Linked DNA regions of Homo sapiens: region 1 is linked to region 2. The links are contacts of gene promoters, found by promoter capture Hi-C in human tissues and cell types (Jung and others, 2019). All regions are on one chromosome and are shown on one strand. Each heading gives the region's core, a stretch centred on a gene start or on the middle of the fragment in contact. The rest is flanking DNA. Distances are from core to core; before and after follow the strand shown.

Region 1 (6,951 bases), core at 3,353-5,852, 810 kb after region 2:
TGAAGAAAAAAGAGCCCTGTACGCTGTTGACAGTAAGGTGAATTAGTACAGCTATTATAAAAAATGGTATGAAGGTTTCTCAAAAAAATTAAAAATAGAACTATTATATTACCCAGCAATCCCACTTCTGGGTATATAGCCAAAGGAAATAAAATCAGTATGTCAAATAGATAGCTGCACTTCCATATTTATTGCAACACTATTCACAATAGTCAATCTATGGAATCAACCTAAGTGTCCATTCATAAAAATAGATAAAGATAATGATATATAACACATATTTTATAAATATATATTTTATATGTATTCATATATAACATATATTTATATATAATATATTCTTTTATGTTATATGTATTATGTATAAAATAATATATTTTATTTATATTATAGATAATATATGAATACATTGTTTATGTATTATATAAAATATGTTATATAAAACATGTTTTATATAAAATATATAATATATAATATATAATATATATTTGTAATATAAAATATATTATTTGTATAAATAATATATGATATATTTTATTTGTATAAAATATATTTTTAAATATATACAAAATATATTATTTTCATATTATGTATTATGCATATATAATATGTATATATTACACATACATCTGATAAACACACATACGACAGAAATTCCACTTTTAAAAGAAGGAAATTCTGTCATTTGTAAAAACATGGATAAGCTTGGTGGACATTATTTTAACTGAGATAAGCCAGACAAAAGAAGACACATACTGCATGATCTCACTTATATGTGGAACCTTAAAAGTTGAACTAATGGAAGTAGAGAGAATTGTAGTAACTAGAGCTGGGATGTGGGTGGAGAGTTGGTGATATGTTGATTAAAGGACAGAAAATTTTAGTTGAATAGGGAGAGTGTGTTTAAGACATCAATTGTACAGCATGGTGACTGTAGTTAACAACAATGTATTGTATTTTGAAAATCACTGACAGAAGTTTCTCACCACAAAAAAATGATATGTAAGGTAATGTATCTGTTAACTAGCTTTATTAAGCCATTTCAAAATGTATACATATTTCAAAACAGTACATGATAAATATAAACCATTTTGTCAATTAAAGAATAAAAATAACATAAAAATAAATTATGGTTTTGGTTTCTTATTGAATTTTGAGAGTTATATATTTTTGTACTTTTTATTATTATTATTAATATTATTAGAGATGAGGCCTTGCTCTGTCACCGAGGATATAGGGTGCAATCATAGTGCACAGCATCCTGAAACTCCTGGGCTCAAGCAATTCTCCTTCATTAGCCTCCCACCATGTTCAACTGGTTTTATTATTTTTATTTGACATATAATTACTGTATGCATTTATGGAGTACAGTATGATATTCTGACACATATGCACAATATGTAATAATTCAGGGTAATTTGCACTGGGTACATTCAAAATCCATGATCATTACTATTTGAAAATAAAAATAAATTATTGTTAATTATAGTCATCCAATGGTGTTATGGTATACTGGAACTTATTCCTTCCACCTTGCTGTAATTTTGTATTCCTTTACTTACCTGTTGCTATCTGCTCCCCCTTCCAAGCCTCTAATAATAACTATTCTACTCCCTCTTCATGAAATCAACTTCTTTAGCCTCCATATATGAGCGAAAACATCCAATATTTGTCTTTTTGTGCCTGACTTATTTCACTTAACATAATGTCCTCCAATCTCATCCACATTGCCACAAATTTAAAAATTTTATTCATTATTATGGCTGAATGGTATTTTACTGTGTATATATACCACATATTTAAATCCATTTATCTGTTGATGAACATGTAGATTGAGTCCATATTTTGGCTATTGTGAATAGTGTTGCAATAAACATAGAAGTGTAGATTTATTTCTGACATACTGATTTTATTTCCTTTGGATATATACCTAATAGTAGGATTGTTGTATTATATAGTAATTTTATTTTTAGTTTTCTGTGGAACCTCCCTAATGTTATCCATAATGGCTATACTAATTTACATTTCCACCAACAGTGTGTGAGAATTCTCCTTTCTCTGCATCCCCACCAGTGCCTGTTATATTTTATTTTTCTGATAATAGCCATTCCAACTGGGGTGATGTGATATTTCATTGTGGTCTTGATTTGCATTTCCCTGGTAATTAGTAATGTTGATCATTTTGTCATATACATGCTGGTCATTTGTATGTCTTCTTTTGAGAGGTGTCTATTCAGCTTATTTGCTCATGTTTTAATCAAATTATTTGTTTTTTGCTTTTGAGTTGTTTGAGTTCCTTGTATATTTTGGATATTAATCCCTTGTAAGCTGAATAGTTAGTATATATTTTCTCCCATTTGGCTGCCTGTCTCTTCACTCTTGATTGTTTCCTGTACAGTGCAGAAGCTTTTTAGTTTGATATTATTCCACTTGCTTATTTCTGCTTTTGTTGCCTGTGCTTCTGATATTTTCTTCATAAAATCTTTGCCCAGACCAGTGTCCAAAAATATTTCACCTATGTTTTCTTCTAGTAGTTTCATAGTTTGGGGTCTTATATTTAAATCTTTAAGAAATTTCAAGTTGAATACATTTTGAGTTGAATTTTGTATGTGGTGAGAGATAAGGATCTAGTTTCATTCTTCTGCAAGAGAATATCCAGTTTTCCGAACATCATTTATTGAAGAGCCTGTTCTTTCTTTATTGTGTGTTCTTGGCACCTTTGTCAAAAAAATCAATTGACCATAAATGTGTGAGTTTACTTCTGTGTTCTTTATTCTGTTCCATTTTTTCTATATGTCTACTTTTATGCCACTCATGCTGTTTTTGTTACTATGGCTTTGTAGTATATTTTGAAGTCAGGCAGTATGATGACTACAGCTTTGTACTTTTTGCTCAAGATTGTTTTGGCTGTTCATAATCTTTTGTGGTTTCATATGAATTTGAGGACTGTTTTTTCTATGTCTGTGAAGAATGTCATTGGTATTTTAGTAGAAATTGCCTTAAATCTGTTGATTTCATTTGGTAGTATGACCATTATTACAATATTAATTCTTCCTATCCATGAGCATGGGATGCTTTTTTATTTTTTGCACGTGTACTCTTTAACTTCTTTCATTAGTGTTACAGTTTTTATTATTGATATCTTCCACTTCCTTGGTTAAATGTATTCTTTGGTATTTTATACTTTTTGTATAAAATTTACTTTTAAATTTTACTGCTTTCTTGATTTCTTTTTCTAACAGCTTCTTGTTAGTACATGGAAATCCTGCTAACTTTTTATATATTCATTTTGTATCTGGCAATTTTACTGATTTTTTTTTTTTTTTTAGAAGGAGTTTCACTCTTGTTGCCCAGGCTGGGGTGCAATGGCACAATCTCAGCTCACTGCAATCTCTGCCTCCCAGGTTCAAGAGATTCTTCTGTCTCAGCCTCCTGAATAGCTGGGATTACAGGCATGAACCACCACACCTGGCTAATTTTGTCTTTTTAGTAGAGACAGGATTTCACCATGTTGGTCAGGCTAGTCTCGAACTCCTGACCTCAGGTGATCTGCCCACCTCGGCCTCCCAAATTTTTAAATCAGTTCTGAAAGTTTTTGGTGGAGGTTTCAGGGTTTTTTATATATAACATACTGCTATCTGCAAACAGGAACAATTTAACTTCTTTCTTTTCAATTTGGATGCCCTTTATTTCCTTTTTATCCTAATTGCTCTGGATAGAACTTTCAGTACTAGGTTGAATAAGTGTGGAGAAAACTGACATCTTTGTCTTGTTCCAGTTATTAGAGAAAAAGCTTTCAGCATTTCCCATTCAGAATGATATTAGCTGTTTGTCATATATGGCCTTTATTATGTTGAGTTATGTTCCTTTTATATCTAGTTTGTTGAGAGTTTTTATCATAAGATAATTTTGAATTTTATAAAATACCTTTTTACATGTGTTGATATGATTGTATTTTTTTGGCCTTCATTCTGTTCATGTATTGAACCATCCTTACACCCTTGGGAAAGATTCCGCTTGATCACGGTGAAAGACTCCTTTGTTATTATGAAATAATTTTATTATCCCTGGAAGTATTCTTTGCTCTCAAATATGCTTTGTCTTATAGTAACATACTTCTCCAGAACTCATTTGATGTTTGTTCGCATGGTATATATTTCAGGTTTTTTTTCTTTCTTTCTTTCTTTTTTTTTTTTTTTGACATAAGGTCTTACTCTAATGCCCAGACTGAAGTACAGTGGCACAATCAGAGCTCACTGCAGCCTCCTGCCTCTAGGACTAGAGGCATGCATCACTGGGTATGGCTAATAAGGTTTAATTTTTTGTAGAGACAGGGCCTGATTATATTGTTCAGGCTGGTCTTGAACTCCTGGCCTCAAGCAATCTTCCCATTTCCCAATGTGTTGGTATTACAGGCATGAGCCACTGCACCCAGCCTTTTGCCATCCTTTTAATTAATTGTGTCTTTGTATTTGAAGCATGTTACTTGTAGTCAGCTTATAATTGGGTCTTACTTTTTAAACTTTAACTTTTAGTTGGTATTTAGACCATTTATATTTAATATGATTAAATTGCTAGACTTGAATCTCTCATCTTACCATGGGCTTTCCGTTTTTCCATTTGTTTATGTTCTCCTATTTCTCTTTTTCTGCTTTAATTGAATAAAATTAATGATTAAATCTTTCTGACTCTATTTTATCTCATTTGTTGGCCTATTAGGTACAACTCTCTATTTTGTTATTTTATCAGTTGCTCTAGGGTTTATACTGTTCGTTTTTATGGTAATCCATTCTCCTTTCAAGTGACATTAAAACACCCTCTGCATGGTATAAGAATTTTGCCATCTATTTTAATTGCTTCCCTCCTGAGCTTTGTGCTATTTTTGCATTACAATTTAGATATATTTTAATCTCCAACTTTGTTGTTGTTGTTTAAACAGTCTATAGTCTCATGAAGACATTTCAATAATTAGAAAAAAAAACCCTGTGTATTTACTCTTGCAGTTACTTTGTGAGACAATTCTTAATGTGTTTGACAAGTTTTTGGAGATCTTGTGAGCAAAGACACTGACAGCTTTTGTTTCAGGTTTTATTTCCTGGGATATTTGTGTAGTGAATAGCCTAGAATGATTAAGATAGTGTCTACTTCTGGGACAGAGGACAAAAGATTTTGTTGTCTCTTATGCTGAAGATGATGCCTTCCATTCTGGCAAAGTTTAGACAGATTTGCTTACATTTCATTATATATAGAAATGTGCATTTTACTATATTCAGGGTCTTTTAGTTGTGACACAAGGATCAATGTATATAATCCATCTAGGTCAGCTTACTTCACCCCATGGGACATGGGAGGTAAAAAGACTCAGCATGAACATGAAGCTCATACTGTTTGCTGTGTTATGACTTATAAAATTATTTGTCTCTGATCTAGGAACTCTGAATCTTCTGCCAGCACTCATGAAACTGTGGAAGGTTAACTTCTTAACTTGCAGGCAGGGTAAAATCTCAGACCATCCACAATTTCTTATAATTACTGTTTCTGGGGCTCTTTCATTATGTTGATCCAGATTTTCCTCTGACATCATTTTCCTTCTGCCTGAAGGACTTCCTTTAGAATTTCTTGTAGTGTGTGGGACTACATGTAATAAGTTCTTTCAGCTTTTGTATGTTAGAAAATGTATTAATTTTGCCTTTATTTCTTATAGAAATATTTCCTGAATGTAGGATTTTAGGTGGTCTTCTTTTTTTAAATTTCAGTCCTTTAAAATGTTCTTCCACTGTCTCCTTACCTATATTGTTTCCTACAGGAAATGTTCTGTTATCATCTTTGTTCTATGCATGATGTGTCTTTTTCTTTGGCCTCTTTCCAGATTTTCTCTTTATCATTAGTTTGGAGAAATTTAGTTTTGTGTTTTGGTGTAGTTTACTTTATGATTTTATGCTTGGGGCTAAGCTTCTTTCATATATAAATTTATAATTTTCATCAAATTTAGAAGTGTTTAAACCATTATTTCCTCAAAGATTTTTACTGTCCTCCACTCTTCATTTTTCTTTGTAGACTCTATATATATTGAGGCTCTTGAATTATCCCATCACTCACAGATTTGTTTTTATGTTTTTCTTTAAATTATTTCCTTTTGGGTAATTTCTATTATTATGATTTCAAGATAGCTAATCTTTTCTTCTGTAATGTGCAATTTTTTATTAATCTCATTTAATGTATTTTTTCATCTCACCATTGTAATTTCCATTTCTAAAGCTTTGAATTGAGGTTCTTTTATTTTTATATTTTTATTTACATGTTTCATACCACTATTTAACTTTCAATTATCTGAAATCAGACCAGGACTAAAATGAAGGATGAGACATATCATCTAGGTTCCAAAATTTAAGAAGGCACTCACTCTCAGGGATGCCCAAGTGCTAATTTTGCTCTGTTTGCAATACAGATTGAATAACACTTTTAATGTCCATATCTGCCAGTTTTTACATCTGTGTGAGTTATGGGTCCATTTCAGTTAATTGATTGATTGATTTTTCTCTTTGTAGGTCATATTTTCCTCCATTTTCATAATGCTTGATAATTCCTATTGAATGCCAGACTTTGTGAATTTTACCTATTTAGGTAGTGGATAATTTTATACTTCCATAAATATTCTTAAACTTTGTTTTAGAATGCAGTTAATTTCCTTGGAAGCAGTATTATCCTTTCAGGTTTTACTTTTGAGATGGGGTACAGGGGACTGGAGCAGGGCTAAGATGTGAGCCAATTATTTGCCACTCCTGAGGCAAGGCCATTTGATATGGTTTGGGTCTGTGTCACCACCCAAATACCATGTTGAATTGTAATATCCAGTGCTGGGGGAGGGACATGTTGAGAGGTGATTGGATCATGGGGACGATTTCCCCCTTGCTGTTCTCATGATAGTGAGTGAGTTATCAGGAAATCTGA
Region 2 (6,329 bases), core at 3,740-6,239:
ATTCTTCCTTCTCTTCATTTATACCCCAAATCTTCCACCTTTGGAAGCAAAGGTTTGCCTCCATTTGTACACCCTGTCTGTCTAGGCGGAACGCAGCAATGCCAGTCTAGCAGGTGCTCCCTTTCAGTCCACTCATATTCAGATAGGGTTAGGCTACACAGGTCCAGAACTGGTGGGCTGTTTTTACTACCAGGCAAAATAGCTGCATTCACTGTTAACCCCAATTTTGCCAAATGAGATGAAGGCACAACCCACTTCTATCAGGCCCATAAGGAATTCTGATATAAGGTTTATAATGAGCCATCCCTACTTACAGCCCTTGTAATTGCAGCCCTGATCCTATGACCACTGCATCAAGTAGGTGAAAGAAAAAAAAAAGAGGACAAGAGAATTAAAAATATATAATGTTTTATTGTCAAAAATAGACAAACTTTAATTTCCTTTAACAGGAATATTAATTTAACAGCCTTCCATAAGCCATCACCATTTTGTAAGCATAACAGGCAAGAGAGTCAAAGATAACTGTTAGTGGGAAAAGGACAACAGTTCTACATCCATGCCCAAGAAGCCTTGCCCAGTCAGTGGTGACAACTCCAGGACAGCGGCAGAAACACAGTGAACCTTTGGAGCTTAACAATAGCCATGCAAAACAACATAGATTTATCTTGGCCCAATTCTATAAAGATTGGCTTTGTAGTATCTTTCCAAGCATTTGAAGAGTTTAGTTTGTTAGAACACTGGCTAATTTGAACAGTGACATTTTAGGTCACTTATAGTATCAGTAACAGGATCACACCTGTTTTTCAGTAACACCAGGATGAATACATCTGTCCCTACGCCGGTCTCCAGCATGTGAAGTGGAGCTAATAGCTAGGGCAGGAAACCTGAATAAGCTCCTTATCCACGACCCACAGCAAGGATATGAAAGCCTTGCTGAATTGAACATTGTTGAGTGGAGGCTAAATTCTCTCATTAACATAAAAAAGGAAAGAGATAATGATCTACTTAGTTGGAATAAGACAAAAAATCAGGCCTTTATTATTCCCTAGTGACAGGTATCCAAGGTGGAAAAAATCTGGGTGCATGCATGGTTATCTGGACGGTGAGTTTCATTCTCTAGGCTGTACTATAAACCATATCTCCATAGCCAATGCAGACTTCGTAAATTGACCCGTTTCAATAATTCAAAGTGGTAGTATACAGCTACTACCCTTGACAATTGGGGTTAAGGAGAGATACTTCAATTCCCAGAAAAGCCCAGAGATGAGATAACACTGCCATGGTGAAATGGTTCATCTGAGATTAAGCACATGTAATACTGAAAAGAGGATAGATTACTAAGTGAATCAGAGAGGGACTAGATCTCAGAACTAATTTCCTATCCTCACAGGTATTCATCATTCACTCAATGGAAGAGTAATCAACTACACACAAAAATATCAGTTCAATATTTTGCATTTTTCTAGTTTAAAGACAGTATTCAACACTTAAGAACAGGGGAAACTGAGCTTATAAAGGCATCTAAAACAACACCGTGGTTACTGAAATGGCACCACAAGCTTTTGTTGCCTCTTTAAAACATTAGAGTGAGGAAGTCACCAAGAAACAGTGAAGCAGTTCCATTATTGCCGTAATATTTCTCATTTACTCTTACCTAGGGTTAAGCTTTAATTAAACTCACCTACTTAATCCTACCCTCCTGTCTAAAAACCCTTCAAATTTGAGTCAGGAACTGGTGGTGTGGGCTTTTGGAAGTTTTGATAGGCTAAATATCATTTAGTATGATTCTGTGATTTAAAAAATCCTCTGAAAACTTACAGAAAAAAAAGCCATATGAAAATCAAAATAGGCAAATCTGGTTTATATAGTCTATTACCAAGCCTACCTGAAACCAAATTGTGGAATCAAATGTAAAACTCAAATGGGCTTCTACTTTTGCTTACCTATTCCATCCCATTCAATTCTGTACAAAAATGGGATCTATGCAGAAAATCTACACTATTTTGAATCACTTCTCCAAAGGCCAGAAAATCAGCCTGTTAGCTGCAGTTGCTATGAATGTGAAACACAGAAAGAAAAGAGACTACATTTGGGGTTTCTTATTTAGGGCAGGTGGGGCAAACTACAAATGACTTTAGCTGACTAGCTGAATAGTTTTACTACCCAATCATGAAATAATCTTTATATATTTTCCCTTTTTAGGACCCTTCAATCACTGTTGTTCCAATCAGTGAGTAAAGTTTTTTCTTAACAAGTCGAAATCCTGAGCTGAGGATCAGAGTTCTCCTGAAACCAGAGGAGAAGCGACCTCTACTAAAGAAAAAGTCCCTGAAGCTAGTCCATGAGCAGTTCTCCTGCTTAAACACAAGTGTAAGCTCAAAAGTAGGTACGACGCTAGAATCACACACAATCCTATCCAGCTTTTTACATACATTTTCAATTTCCAAGTTCACGTGCATAACACAACCTCGCAAGCCGCAGGGCTCCGTTGAGGAAAGCCGCAGGACATCTTGAGCAATTCTCTGGGTCAGTTTCTCAGGGACAAGGACCTTTGAGCAACCAAGTTTAGTTTGCTTTGATTTGGACAGACAGTTCTCCAGCATTTTAACCAAATTCTGGCAAGTTGATTCCTCAAATATTACCTCGTTGAGGTTGGGTTCAGGAACAACATAATCCCAGTAGTCAAAATCTGTAAGAAATGGAGTTTTCTTTTTAGATACAGAAGAAAAAATTTAAGAGTAGAAAAAAAACACCAAGATATCAACATTGGTTACCTCTATCTACCATGTCTGCCTTTTTCTTGTATTTGTTTCAGAGTCAGCTGACCTCAATTAACTGTTAACTAGCTAGGTAATATAGCGAATAATTTAAGCTCTCATGAATGAAAGTTCATGTATGAAATAAAGGTTTAGATAAATAGAGTAGATAGGATGTAACCACTTTTCTTTAAATTTATGTGTGTACACAAAACACACACACAACCGTGAAGACTATGCATCAAAAATCTACTTGTGATTATCCCAGATTATTGGTGATTTTCTTTTCTTTTCTCCTACTTGCTTATGGGGGTTTTCTAATTTTGTTTTACAGAAAACATGCATTACTTCTGGAATAAAAAGTTATAACTTTGTTTTTTGGACTAAGGGGTTGTTACTTTCTAACTGTAGGAATACATGTATTGTAAAATAAAGAATTTTTACTATTATGTTTGAAGAGTTGTATTAAAGCTTTAAGAGTTATATTAAAGATCTATCAAATTTGTGTCTTTAAGTCTTTACTGGAGTGGCCTGTAGGTCCCAATTTTAGCTTTAGCCTCTTTAATTAAAAATTGTGCAGAGAAGACCTTTGAGGTTCATGAGGATATTTGTAACCGGCTGGGTGGTTTTTCTTAGCCAAGCAAAACAAAATAGTCCTAGGGAAATAAAATTAGCTGGGCTCAAAGGAAAAGAGATAGCTCTGCATTTGGTCACCTACACCTCAAATTAATCCTACCCCTTGGCAGGATGCCACACCACACGGAGTCAAATGAACAAGGTGCAGGCAGATGCCCTCCCAGCTCCTCTCTCTAAGCCTACTCCACCTTCATCAGCCACTGGCTTTTCCTCTCCACTTCGTGTAAGTTTGGAGTTCTGGCCTGTAAATTAGGTCATCAACCACTTCACCTTGAAAGGAGAAAAACACGAAGAGCTTAAGCAGTTTATCTATGCTCTTACAGCTCTTTAGTGTCAGAGCAGTGTGTTCACCTAGAAACTGCTGTTAAAATTCCAAATGACAGCAAGTCAAGCACCGCTGCTGTTCAACAGTTTCCTTCTCACATTAAAAATGGAATAATGGATATATCCACGACTGAAAATCCTACTCAGTAATAAACAATAAACACGAACACACTGATTTAAGCAACGGACATAAAAGAATCTCAAAAACATTAGGCTGCGGGAAAGAAACCAGACACAAAAGAATACCTACTGTATGGTTCCACTTACCTAAAGGCAAAACTAACTTGGAATGATAAAAATCAGATCAGTAGTTCCCTGGAGTCAGGGGAGAGTGAGGAATACCTGGCAAATAGGTGCGTCGGAATTCAGGGGGAGGGGCGATATTGATTACAGGGTAAATACATTTGCTAAAACACACATAACTGTGTTCTTCACAATCATGTAAGATAAGGAACTTAATCCCAAGGGGCCTACTGGCACCAGACTAGAAAGATGCAGCCCTCGGGTATTCTACTTTTGCTACTTTTGTTTCTATCATGGAGAGAAGATGTTAGAAAATTTGGAAAGGAGTCTCCTCAGATGGATTTTGTGGCACCTCCTACATAGAGGTAGGGGAGGAAGTCGAAAGCCCGCCCACCCAATAGATCCAGAGGCACCGACCTTGGGAGGGGAGAAGGGTGGACAGCGGGGACACTCACCACTTAGCAGGCTCTCTGGGTGATAGCCACAGTCCAGCAATTCTGAAATGCTGGCCGGGTTCTTGCTGCTCAAACTGCCAGTTGCAACCATGGTCAACGGCTCTGTTTCCTTCGCGAGGCGCAACGGCCTTTCCTGAGCGCTGGAAAAAATGAGGCGAGAAGAGACGGATTTGCAAAAGCAGGCGAGTCGTGCAGAGGCTCCTAAAATGCCCGGCGTCCCGGGAGCGAACTAGCGGAGGAACTCCTTTGCCAAAGGGGTGGAACCGGCCTCTGCAACTCAATTTGACAAAGCCCTGGGAGCGGAGCCGCAACCTGAAACTAACTCAACAGTTCGCAAAACTTGGAAGCGACCTGCCCCGCGGAGCGCCCCCCGGCCCCGCTGCCCCCACCAAGGCCGCAGCTTCGCTCACCTGCCAGGAGTTCGCGGGGGCCTGCGCGCTCGCTGCCGGGTAAACACAGGCAGGTGGCTTCTTAGGAGTCCCCTCTCCTGGGGACTCGGTGACCTGCAGACCCCAGCAGCCAGCGGCACCCTGCTCACCCCTCCCGGGCCACCCTGCGCCGGCTCCTCGCAGTAGCATAGCCTCCGGGGCAGCGAGAACTTTATAGGTCCAGTCCCCACCCTGCTCAGGCCCGCCCACCTGCACCGCCCCTCCCCGGCCAGCGCCCCGCCCCTCCCCTCCAGAGTCTGGTCCCCTTTCAACCTCTACACTTCCAGGGAGCCCGAGCCTAGCCACAGGGAGTTGAGGATAAGCCTGTGGTAGAGCGGACACCTGTTGCTTCCAGGGTAGATCTCGGGCCACTGGGACCGCAATTCCGGGTGCACGACTCGTCAAAGCCTGAACCTGATTGTTCAGTGCGACCCCTCCCCGAGCGTCCGCGCTTTCACACTCAGGCTGCTCCCGGCAGCGGGAAGCTTTAAGCGATCTGTGCATTTCCTTGTCCTGGGGCTTTGCTGTGTCATCCTGAACACTTGGCTTAAATCTGTTGCAACGTCCACTGAGCATCATTTATGCACTTATTTCTGGCCTCTAACCCAGTCAACTCTACTCTGCCTCCCAGGGTTTCTGTATCCTCCTCTGCTGCAAGCGGTCAGATCTAGTTTTCCTTTCCCGCATCGAAGGCTCGCCAGCATTTTAAGAAGGGCCTTAATGACCCCACGCACTCCGTGGCTCCCTGGCATTCTTCGTGCACTTACATCTGTGGCTAATGCGTTTTCTTCGCAGGAAGGGTGAGCCTGGCACTCTTCTAATTAGACCTTGCCCCAGAGCGCGGGGAGCTTGAATTGAGCGGGAGTTTGCCAAGAAACACACAATACCATTAGTAGGATCTTAGGTACTCCTCTATCCGTGCATCGAGAGCAACTGTCATTTCCGGAGGCAGAAGTTTCTGGCGAGCCCTGTTGGGAGGATCTTTGGTTTGGGATATTTTGAAGAGGTTTCAGAGACTGAAGATAAAGAGTTTTATATTCTGCTGGGGATCAGCAGATAATCCCTGTGAGGGCTCCGTGCGGTCCTGCACAGGAACACACAGAGAGGCAGAGGAGCCCTGGAAAGAGGCAACATGCCCGCATAGCCCATGAGCAAGAAGCCAAACCTGATTTTTTTCTTCCAAAGTTATTAAGCCACGGTTTTCTCGCTTTGGTGTGCCAGTAGGAGATGATCTGTTCAGAGAGTCAGCTTGGGGTGCGTTAGGGGATGCCTGGAGGGAGAAGGTTGTTCCTACAGTAGAGATCCCAGTGTTGGCTCCCAGGCCCTCTAGGATTATGTGTAGAAGGATTTGCAGGTTAGAACCTTGAAAGGCAGTTTCAGCTGTCCTGGCATAAAACTCTTAGAAAAACAACAACAGAAGGGGTATAGAGGGTGTGATAAACAGATCAGTGGGAGGACATTCGGACGCAGAGCAGCAGAAATTAAAG

What was found. The method cuts DNA at HindIII sites, captures the fragments that hold promoters and counts their contacts. A contact is called where the count stands out against the background at its distance.
Region 1: a contact is called between a fragment that was not itself captured here and the fragment with the promoter of DDIT4L in region 2, in 1 of the 25 tissues and cell types used here (hippocampus).

What each region holds. Positions count from the first base shown.
Region 1 is chr4:100,997,783-101,004,733 of GRCh38, forward strand. No RefSeq gene overlaps it. Among named protein-coding and RNA genes, the nearest start is that of LINC01218, 120 kb to the left of the region's middle. The HindIII fragment of the contact is 3,006 bases long and covers 3,100-6,105 here.
Region 2 is chr4:100,185,479-100,191,807 of GRCh38, forward strand. DDIT4L (DNA damage inducible transcript 4 like) reads right to left here and starts at 4,990. Exons shown (of 3, transcript NM_145244.4): 1 at 4,825-4,990; 2 at 4,415-4,554; 3 at 392-2,689. The coding sequence starts at 4,505. The coding sequence ends at 2,199. DDIT4L-AS1 (DDIT4L antisense RNA 1) reads left to right here and starts at 4,555. Exons shown (of 5, transcript NR_125924.1): 1 at 4,555-4,596. The HindIII fragment of the contact is 5,141 bases long and covers 2,447-6,329 here.